Regions from separate parts of the Homo sapiens genome. Here regions 1 and 3 are each linked to region 2. Evidence: promoter capture Hi-C in 16 types of primary human blood cells and fetal thymus (Javierre and others, 2016). All regions are on one chromosome and are shown on one strand. The core of a region is centred on a gene start or on the middle of the fragment in contact, and the rest is flanking DNA. Distances in the headings are between cores, read along the strand shown.

Region 1 (2,817 bases), core at 117-2,616, 410 kb before region 2:
TCTTCCTTTAACATCATTGTACCCATGCCCTCAAAGACTGTATCCAAAGTACTACTTCCTTATGCCATTTTCTTACCCACAAGGATTTAACAACTTCTCACTGTTTCAACAATTTGTCCACAAAAGTCTCCATTAGTGGTTTCTGGCATGTGCCTTTGCCCTTAGGCATCCTGGCTGACCCACTGGCCAGCACACACCTTGCAAATGCCCAGCTTTCAGCTATTTATTCATTATGCACCTACAGTGTAGAATACTGTAACAAATTATAGGTGCAGATACTATATTAGTGGAAGGGGACACAAATATGAACGAGATTTGGTTTCTGCCTTCAGATGACTGAGCGGGAAATCCATAACCTCACTACATTGGTATAAGGGTTCAGAATAACTAACTCCAATTTGGGGAAAGAGGGTGATTAGAGGAGTTATAGAGTGATATCATCTTAGTCTTGAAGAATGAATTGAGGTTTATTCATATGTGTATGTATGGAAAAAAGGAACTTCTGGTTGAGGGAACAGCCTGGACAAAGACATAGAGGTTAGAAAGGCTTGGCAGAGAGGACTGCCCTGTAGTTCCATATAGTGGGCTGGCAGGAATGCATGTGGGAAGTCCAGCACTGCCTGGAGGACTTGGATTCTGGCCAAAAGAAAACCACTGGGGTCAGGTCACATTGCTGCTTTGTTAAATCCCACAGGGCACAAAAGGGCAAGAACATTCACATTTCTGGTGAGTCACATGTAAACAGCTGTATTTTTGCCAAGGTCTCTTCCAAAAGGTACTGAGGCTGGGGGCATCTTTCACACAAGGTGACAGAGACGTTTCTGCGGCTGACACCATTCCAGTCTTATGACCTTAGATTTCATTTTATCAAGCTTCTACTATCTATAGTTACAAGAAACAAGACCTCCTTTAAGTCATGCTGCCTGGCTGTGGTGAGAACGGACAAGGGTGTGGCTGTGGCAGATGGTATCAAAGAAGACCCTTACTGCCCCATTCCCAGTAGGTCCTTGAATGGGTACTGGGTAAGTTCCTGTGAACAATGGGGAACCCAACTCTCCATCCTATGTTCCCTGACTACCTGCTACTTCTAAGAGATGTGGGTACAGCCCTGGGAATGGCCTTTCTTCAGCCATTTCTTGGCCGTCCCTCCTCTTCATGGTAGGAGAGAGAAAAGAGGGAAGAAAGGACCCATGTGCTCCTGGTGGGCCAGATTCTTCTTTTCTGGTCCAATGTAATTTTCTCATGTGAAAGGGAACATTCCCTTCAAATATCAGCAAGATGGTCAGATGTTTATGCAGAATCTCAAAGCTCAGCATCAAGATTTCTGGTGAACATGGATGCTGTTTACACTAGCTTTACAGTCTAGTCAGGGAAACAGACACTAAATAAGTCATAGTTATCAAGAGGATGGATACCTCAAAGTATAGTACCAGTTGCCCTGGGAACAAACAACAGGGGGATCTAAGGATGGACTGGTCAGAAAAATGCCACCTTGAAGAAGTGACCATTTATACTGAGAACTGGATGAACAGGAGTTAGCTAGGCATAGGAATTAAGGAAGAGCCTTTTTGGCAGAAATGCATGTGCACAGACCAAGGCAGGAAAGGACATACTTTGAAATATTTTCTATCATCTTTGGAGGAAAACTCATTAAAGCTAACGTAGAAAGCAACCACTAGGGTCAGACAAGATGCTAACATTTTACACATATTATCTCGTGGAATCCTCTTAAGATCTTATGAGGTTTGTTTCTATGAGGAGTGGGTCTTATTTGTCCCTGCTGTCCCCCACTGTATTCACAATACCTTAGGCAGCATCTGGGTAAGTAGCAGACACTCAATATTTATAAAATAAAGCTTACATTTTACAGACGAGGAAGCTGAGGCTCAGAGGTACAAGATGACTCAAGAGTTACTGGTGAAAATAGGGCTCTGATCCAGGTTGGAGATGAGTACCTTCTGGGCTGTCAGTCCAGGAAAATGCTCTTGTCTTCTTCCAGATAAAGCAGAGACTAGGCCGGGCCTTGGACAGTCTTAGACTGGGCATGAGGGCACAGAGCAAGTGAACAGCACATAGCTATGTCTGCCCACTGCATTATCAGATGAACCTGGTGAGCGCATAGTCTGCCCTTGGAGCTGGCACCCAGGTGGGGCTGTACCCTAAGACCAGGCAGAAGTTAACATCTCTCAGTGCACTGAAACCTAGAGTCATGTTTCTCCAACGGGGAGCCTGTTAGCTGACCTGACACTCAGGTCTCAGCTGAACAGAAACTGGAGAACTTAAAACTGTCAGGCATCTATTTGCCCTAGGTCAGACTCTGGGAGGAAAGCCAGTGATAAAGGGTCAGCCTCAGCTTTCAAATTTTGGTGTTAAAGCCCAAGACAGCCAAGTACCTCACAGGTCACCTTTATACCTGTGCAACCTCAGGACATTTCTCTTAACTGGGAATTGTAACCTGAGCATTGTGAAGGCCCTGCTGGGAATGTTTCTAACTGTACTGCCCTAAATAGCTTCTCTTCACTGTCTACTTGGCTCTCCTGACGGGGAGGCACTGCAGAACAGCCCTTTAAGATAATTCCATCCTCCTTCACTTGCTATTATGCTTGAGGTTCTTTAGTGAATAAAAGTCTTATTCATGTGTCATAAAAGTGAATCATTTCCAAAGCTGAAAAAAGAAATGTATGACATACTCAAGTTCTTAAGAAAATTACTCAGTATTAAACATGATCAACACTTCCCACTCACTCAGCATTTTATGTAGATCAGAATATTGGAGTTGGAAGGCCAGCTAGCGAGCATCCAAGCCCACCCACTCAC
Region 2 (2,783 bases), core at 198-2,697:
CACTTATAGACTTTTATCTGTGTAACACAGACATATTGCTATGTATATTTTCTATGTGCATAGACATATTGCTATGTGCAATCATTATACATACAACTGTGAATTAACAATTTTTTTTGAGACAGTATCTCACTCTGTTGCCCAGGTTGGAGTGCAGTGGGACCACCATGGCTCATTGCAGCCTTGACCTCCTGGGCTCAGGTCATCCTCCCACCTCAGACTCCCAGGTAACTAGGACTATTATAACAGGCACATGCCATTATGCCCAGCTAATTTATTATTATTATTATTTGTAGAGATGGGGTTTCCCCATATTGCCCAGGCTGGTTTCCAATTCCTGGACTCAAGTGATCTGCCCACCTTGGCCTCCCAAAATGGTTGGATTGCAGGAGTGAGCCACCACACCCAGCCTAAATTTCTTCTTGATTAACATTTCCATGATTATCTGAAGTCAGTAACATTGGATTATCTGGAAAGGGGTGCCACTGGTGAAATTCAGGTGTTTCAAACACATTTACCTGGATTCAGTCATCCCTGTACTTTTTCTTCTTCTTCTTTTTTTTTTTTTTTAAGAGAGAGGGACTTCCTGACATTAAAAAATGGTAAGAGAAAAAAGCACCTGATTTCTTATTACTGGTCCTATTTAAAACTTGACTTAGCTTTATTTTCACTTTCAATATTGCTTATAGGAAATAAATGTTAAGTTTTGAATCAAAATCGGCACCAGTAATTTTACCTGATTAAGTGCCTAAAATTTTGTACTTATTAATTTGCAAATGTTTAATCAGACATTACTAAACAAATAGGAAGATCTAAGGGATAGGCACAAATGGGGAATCATTACCCATTTATTTCAGATAGATTTCCCAAACTCTGTTAACAAACTGGCTAGTCATTTTAGGAACTGAGTCCATTTTTCTGGTAGCCTGGGTAAGACTCCTAATTATAAATTATGCTTTTTATGGTCCAATCATCCTCCTGTCCTCCAAAAGATCCAGTTTCAATGAGATGTTTGTGTTTTGAAAGAGAAGTATTTACTTGCCACCACCGCACCTCTGGGCAACAACGTTAGAGGATACATAGATATCCATAGACACACACACAAACACACACATATTTTATGGTTAATGAAAAAATAAAGAAAAGAGATGAGAAACAGAAACATATAAGCATGTAAAAAAAAATAAAAGCAAACAAAAACTCAAATTTCTTCCCTGACAAAATTACCCCTGAGAGACAGGTAGATGAAACAACATTCATGTCTGCTGCTCTATATTCATTTTGGAGGCGAAAGATACCTAAGCTAAGGGTGGAAGAGGGACAAACAAACCTGAGTTTCAGGAGTCTGGTGTGGAGGAACCAGCACTTTCAAGCTCCTTTAGTTTCCTGTCTTGATAAACAGGAAAATCCCCAACAGTCAACTCCCCACAAAGTGCATGTCCTTTCAATTTCGGTTCTCACAGACTCTTACTTGGATGTCTGTAAATCCGGCTGGACTTTCAGCTTCTAAGAACAGTCCGTTTCTCGAGGATCCAGGCGCAGGAGGACAGAGCAATGGGTGAGAGAACTCTTCACGCTGCAGTGCCCACACCAGGTAAGTTTGCTCTTAAGCTTTACCTTTCAAGTATATTTGGGTTATAACAAACAACAACAAATTCCCAAGCGCAGACTGCACACGGGGAGGGTTGGAGACTTCACACTGGCGGGTGACAAAGGCAGTGGAGGAACCTCGCGGGGAAGTCTGATGCTGCTTGAACCCCTGAGTGCTTTGCTCCGTGTGGCCCAGCGTCTCTAGACGGTCCACAGGCGGCGACCAGAGGCGCACCGGTGTCTCCAGGATGCGCTGCTCCTCCTCGGGCTTCCTCCCAGAGCTGTGGCATTTTCTCCTGCGAAATACCATCATCTAGTATACATATACACATTTTTTGCTTGTTTGTTTTATTAATTTTCTGTCCCCCACTAGAATATGTGATACCCTACCTTGTTTTAACCTGAGTTGACTCTCCCTTAGCTGAAAGAGCCAGACAGTCTGCATCTCGGCTCCTTCACTTGCAGCCCCTTACCCACCCGCTTCCTCAGGGACTTAACTTGTGCAAGCTGACTCCCAGCACATCCAAGAATGCAATTAACTGATAAGGTACTGTGGCAAGCCATACCCGCAGTTCCCAGGAATTCGCCCGGTTAACAGCACCCAGAGCCCCCCGCGTTTGTGTCTGGTTGATAAAGCCCAAAGCCCCGCTTCTATCACCTTGTGATAGAATTAAAGCCCCTGCACCTAGTACTGTTTACTTTCCTGTAACCATTTATCCTTTTAACTTTTTGCCTACTTTACTTCTGTAGGATTGTTTTAACTAGACCCCTCCCCCCAACCTCTCCTTTCTAAACCAAAGTATAGAAGAAAATCTAGCCCCTTCTTCGGGCCGAGAGAATTTTGAGCACTAGCCGTCTCTCGGTCGCCGGCTAATAAAGGACTCCTGAATTCGTCTCAGAGTGTGGCGTTTCTCTGTAACTCGCTGGGTTACAACAAATAGAGCTCCAAGAGGCAGAAGTTTGTATCAATTATGTTCCTTGCTTGTTGCTGAGAATCTAGAACGGTGTTAATTAGCACATGGTAGGTACGCAATACTCTTTATTAAATTAATGAGAGAGCAAATTCTTCTGGAATGCCTGGAGCCTTTTCTAACCACTCCTCATCTCCTTTTTGTAACATCCTGCCCCTATTTATTCCAGGAGTGGAATTATTCTGCCATCAGTGCCTTGATTTTCTAATTCTGTTTATTTTA
Region 3 (2,942 bases), core at 338-2,837, 270 kb before region 2:
GGTAGGGGTGGGGAATATATGCCTGTAAAGGCATAAAATATCTTGAGAAGAGTACATAAGCAACTGTAGGCAGAGAAACTGGATAGAGGGAAGACAGGTTAGAAATTTGACTTTTTATGTTATATACCTTTTGAATTTTGAACCACATGCTTATGTTAACTACTAAAGATAAAACAAATTGGAATTTAAGAAAAATATAGTATATTATTATTTCATTTTGTATCAGAGAACTCCATTCAGCAAAATCACTTTTTGTGCTGATTGTAATGATTGAGATTCTTATCTAAATAATTAATTTTACAGATAAAGATTTATATAGTTGGCAAATTTCTTTGCTTTTCTTTATTTTTTAGAAAGTTCATTGTCTCATTTTTTTCTTTTTTTTTATTATTATACCTTAAGTTCTGGGATATATGTGCAGAATGTGCAGGTTAGTTACATAGGTATACACATGCCATGATGGTTTGCTGCATCCAACAATCCGTCGTCTACATTACATATTTCTCCTAATAATATCCCTGCCCTAGACCCCCACCCCCCAACAGGCCCCAGTGTGTAATTTTCCCCTCCCTGTGTCCATGTTTTCTTTACTTTTAACATTTGTTTTCTAGCTCAGAGCTTAGGGCATACATTGATTATTTCTTAAATTTGTTATATCACTTAGGTTTGTTAGATTAATACATAAATAGATTTGGAAGGGTCAAAAAGCTAGAGATTTTTGGAATGTGAGGTTCCTTGTCATTTAATAGAATTTCAAGATATTTCCTGAATACTCTGATACAAATAGACCTTTTTTAGAGAAGAAAAGTTTAGGGAACTGCAGTTACTCATGTATGCTTGGAGAGGAATATTGTCCTCATGGGTTGACCTCGTAGCACTGGCAGCAATACATGAGACTTAGAGGAGACAGGACTCTCAAACCATCCTAGTCAACCATCAGCTCTAAAGATAAATAGAGTGACATATGAGGCAGACAGAAGGCTTTTATTTCCAGAATTTCTGCAGAGGTTTTTGGAGTAAACATTTTGTGCATTTAAAATGTCTCTTAATATTCAGGAATCTTTCTTAGTCTTTGGTTTTGTCTATATTCTGGCCATTTCTAATTTCACCAGATGACCATGGAAGGTTGGTTGGAATTTGGAATGCAGCCCAGGGAAATACTGCTCACCTAAGTAGCTCTTGTTTAACTTTAGTGGAGGAGAAGGTAAAAATGAATGCCCACTCTGTGGATGAAGGTAGGTTTTGGAGCTCATTTATTCATCTCTTTCCCAGGTTGGCACGAATTAAAATAAAAAAATTAATCTCACTCTGTCTCCAGCTATTGTAAAACAATTTCTGATTTTTGTTTGTCTTTTCTTATTCTTTTTCTCAAACTCTCCAGCTTCACTAAATTTAATTTATGATGTTTTAAACTAAATAAACTGAAAAAGACTTCGAGATGAATCATTTTCTATTTATAATTTGTTTAGGTATCCCAGTTTTTCAGTCATATCTCTTGAAAGACTCAGGATTTTTATCATAACCTTTTAAAATTTGGTATATTACCCTTGAGGGGTAAGTGCGATGTTTGCCTAGAATCCTGCAATTTATGAATTTAAACAGCAAAAATAAATCACTACCGGCATTATATTAACAAAAGATTTATAGTCACCACAAAGCTGCAAACAATAAGATGTTGTTATTTAGCTTCAACTTGATTAAAAAACTGAGCAAGTGATTATACATTCATGGCTTTTGCTCCTGTAGCTCAATGTGAAATATAGTATGGGAACCAGTTTTCTAGGTGTTTCGGTTACCTATTATATATAGCTTGGGGTGGTTTGTTACCACCCCATCAGCATTGTTCTGAAGCTGCAATGAGATGGGCAATATAAGGTCTATAAGCATTCAATTATTATGAACTATTATTATTATCTTCCCTTATGATTTCAAGCACATTTATAACATAATAGTTATTTTAACTTGTATTTTCCTAGGCTCCCTGTAGTTTAAACAGCCAGGTTGATGATGATGCCCTTTACTAAAATAGAAGGAATGAGACAAAAATATGTAATTTTGCAAGGAATGATTCTAGAGGCTGTTAAGAATATGTATGAGCATATATTCAATTGTTCATGTATACATGCATAGATTTAATATATGCAGATGTATAACGAGAGAGAGGGAGAGAGAGAAAGAGAGAGGGAGATAATGAGAGAGAGGTAAGGGGTAAATAATTTTGGAGCCAACTATCCCAGCTGATAATGCATAACTAAGACCTTCATTACTCTTTGCTCTTGAAGACAGAAATTTTACCTTATTCATCTTTATAGTTTCTCTAACACACAACATTATCTGTCAACTTCATGTGGCAGGGCATTCATAATTTTTTTTGCTAAACTGTACTAACATATTCCAGCTAGAGTCAGCATGAGAAATAATCTGGAGACAATTTTTGAAGCTCCTCATTATTTCACAGATTCAGTTATTCCAGGTTAAACCATGCCTTTCATTTACTGAGTGTTCTAAATATTCTTCTTTGCTTTCTCAATATGGTAACAGAACACAGAGAAATGTACAATGTGAGTATTCTCTTTGTTTTTTAATGTCAATAACTTCTTTTAGAACTTGAAACAAACGTGTCTGTTTTGTCATTTATTAGTATTCAGTCCTAATTTATATTTATAATTCATAAAATGTTTTATTAGTCATTTCAGAATTTGATAAAAAAATAAACCTTTTAGGTATCACCATTATACTCATACAATCAGTAAGGAAGCATGCTCAGAGTTTAACCATTCAGCTAGTGCATGGTGGAAGTAGGACTTAAACTTTTGTCTTCCAACTTCAGGATGTGTGCATGGCAAGGGCTTCATCAGGAAAAAGCAACTTTGGGGATGTATATGAATTTAAATCATTCCTATTACCTTGAATAAGTTGAAATGATCCTGCATATTTCAAAA

Evidence for each region. The method cuts DNA at HindIII sites, captures the fragments that hold promoters and counts their contacts. A CHiCAGO score of 5 or more calls a contact.
Region 1: a fragment that was not itself captured here is called in contact with the fragment with the promoter of GBP4 in region 2 in 1 of 17 cell types (activated CD4 T cells); the score reaches 7.1 in activated CD4 T cells.
Region 3: a fragment that was not itself captured here is called in contact with the fragment with the promoter of GBP4 in region 2 in 1 of 17 cell types (activated CD4 T cells); the score reaches 6.9 in activated CD4 T cells.

The regions. Positions count from the first base shown.
Region 1 is chr1:89,603,761-89,606,577 of GRCh38, reverse strand. No RefSeq gene overlaps it. Among named protein-coding and RNA genes, the nearest start is that of LRRC8C-DT, 28 kb to the left of the region's middle. The HindIII fragment of the contact is 984 bases long and covers 875-1,858 here.
Region 2 is chr1:89,197,606-89,200,388 of GRCh38, reverse strand. GBP4 (guanylate binding protein 4) reads left to right here and starts at 1,447. Exons shown (of 11, transcript NM_052941.5): 1 at 1,447-1,594. The coding sequence starts at 1,555. LOC107985076 (a long non-coding RNA gene) reads right to left here and starts at 2,042. Exons shown (of 3, transcript XR_002958332.2): 1 at 1,981-2,042; 2 at 1,331-1,886. RefSeq lists a silencer at 1,349-1,643. The HindIII fragment of the contact is 3,654 bases long and covers 1-1,613 here.
Region 3 is chr1:89,468,165-89,471,106 of GRCh38, reverse strand. No RefSeq gene overlaps it. Among named protein-coding and RNA genes, the nearest start is that of LRRC8B, 55 kb to the left of the region's middle. The HindIII fragment of the contact is 4,080 bases long and covers 1-2,942 here.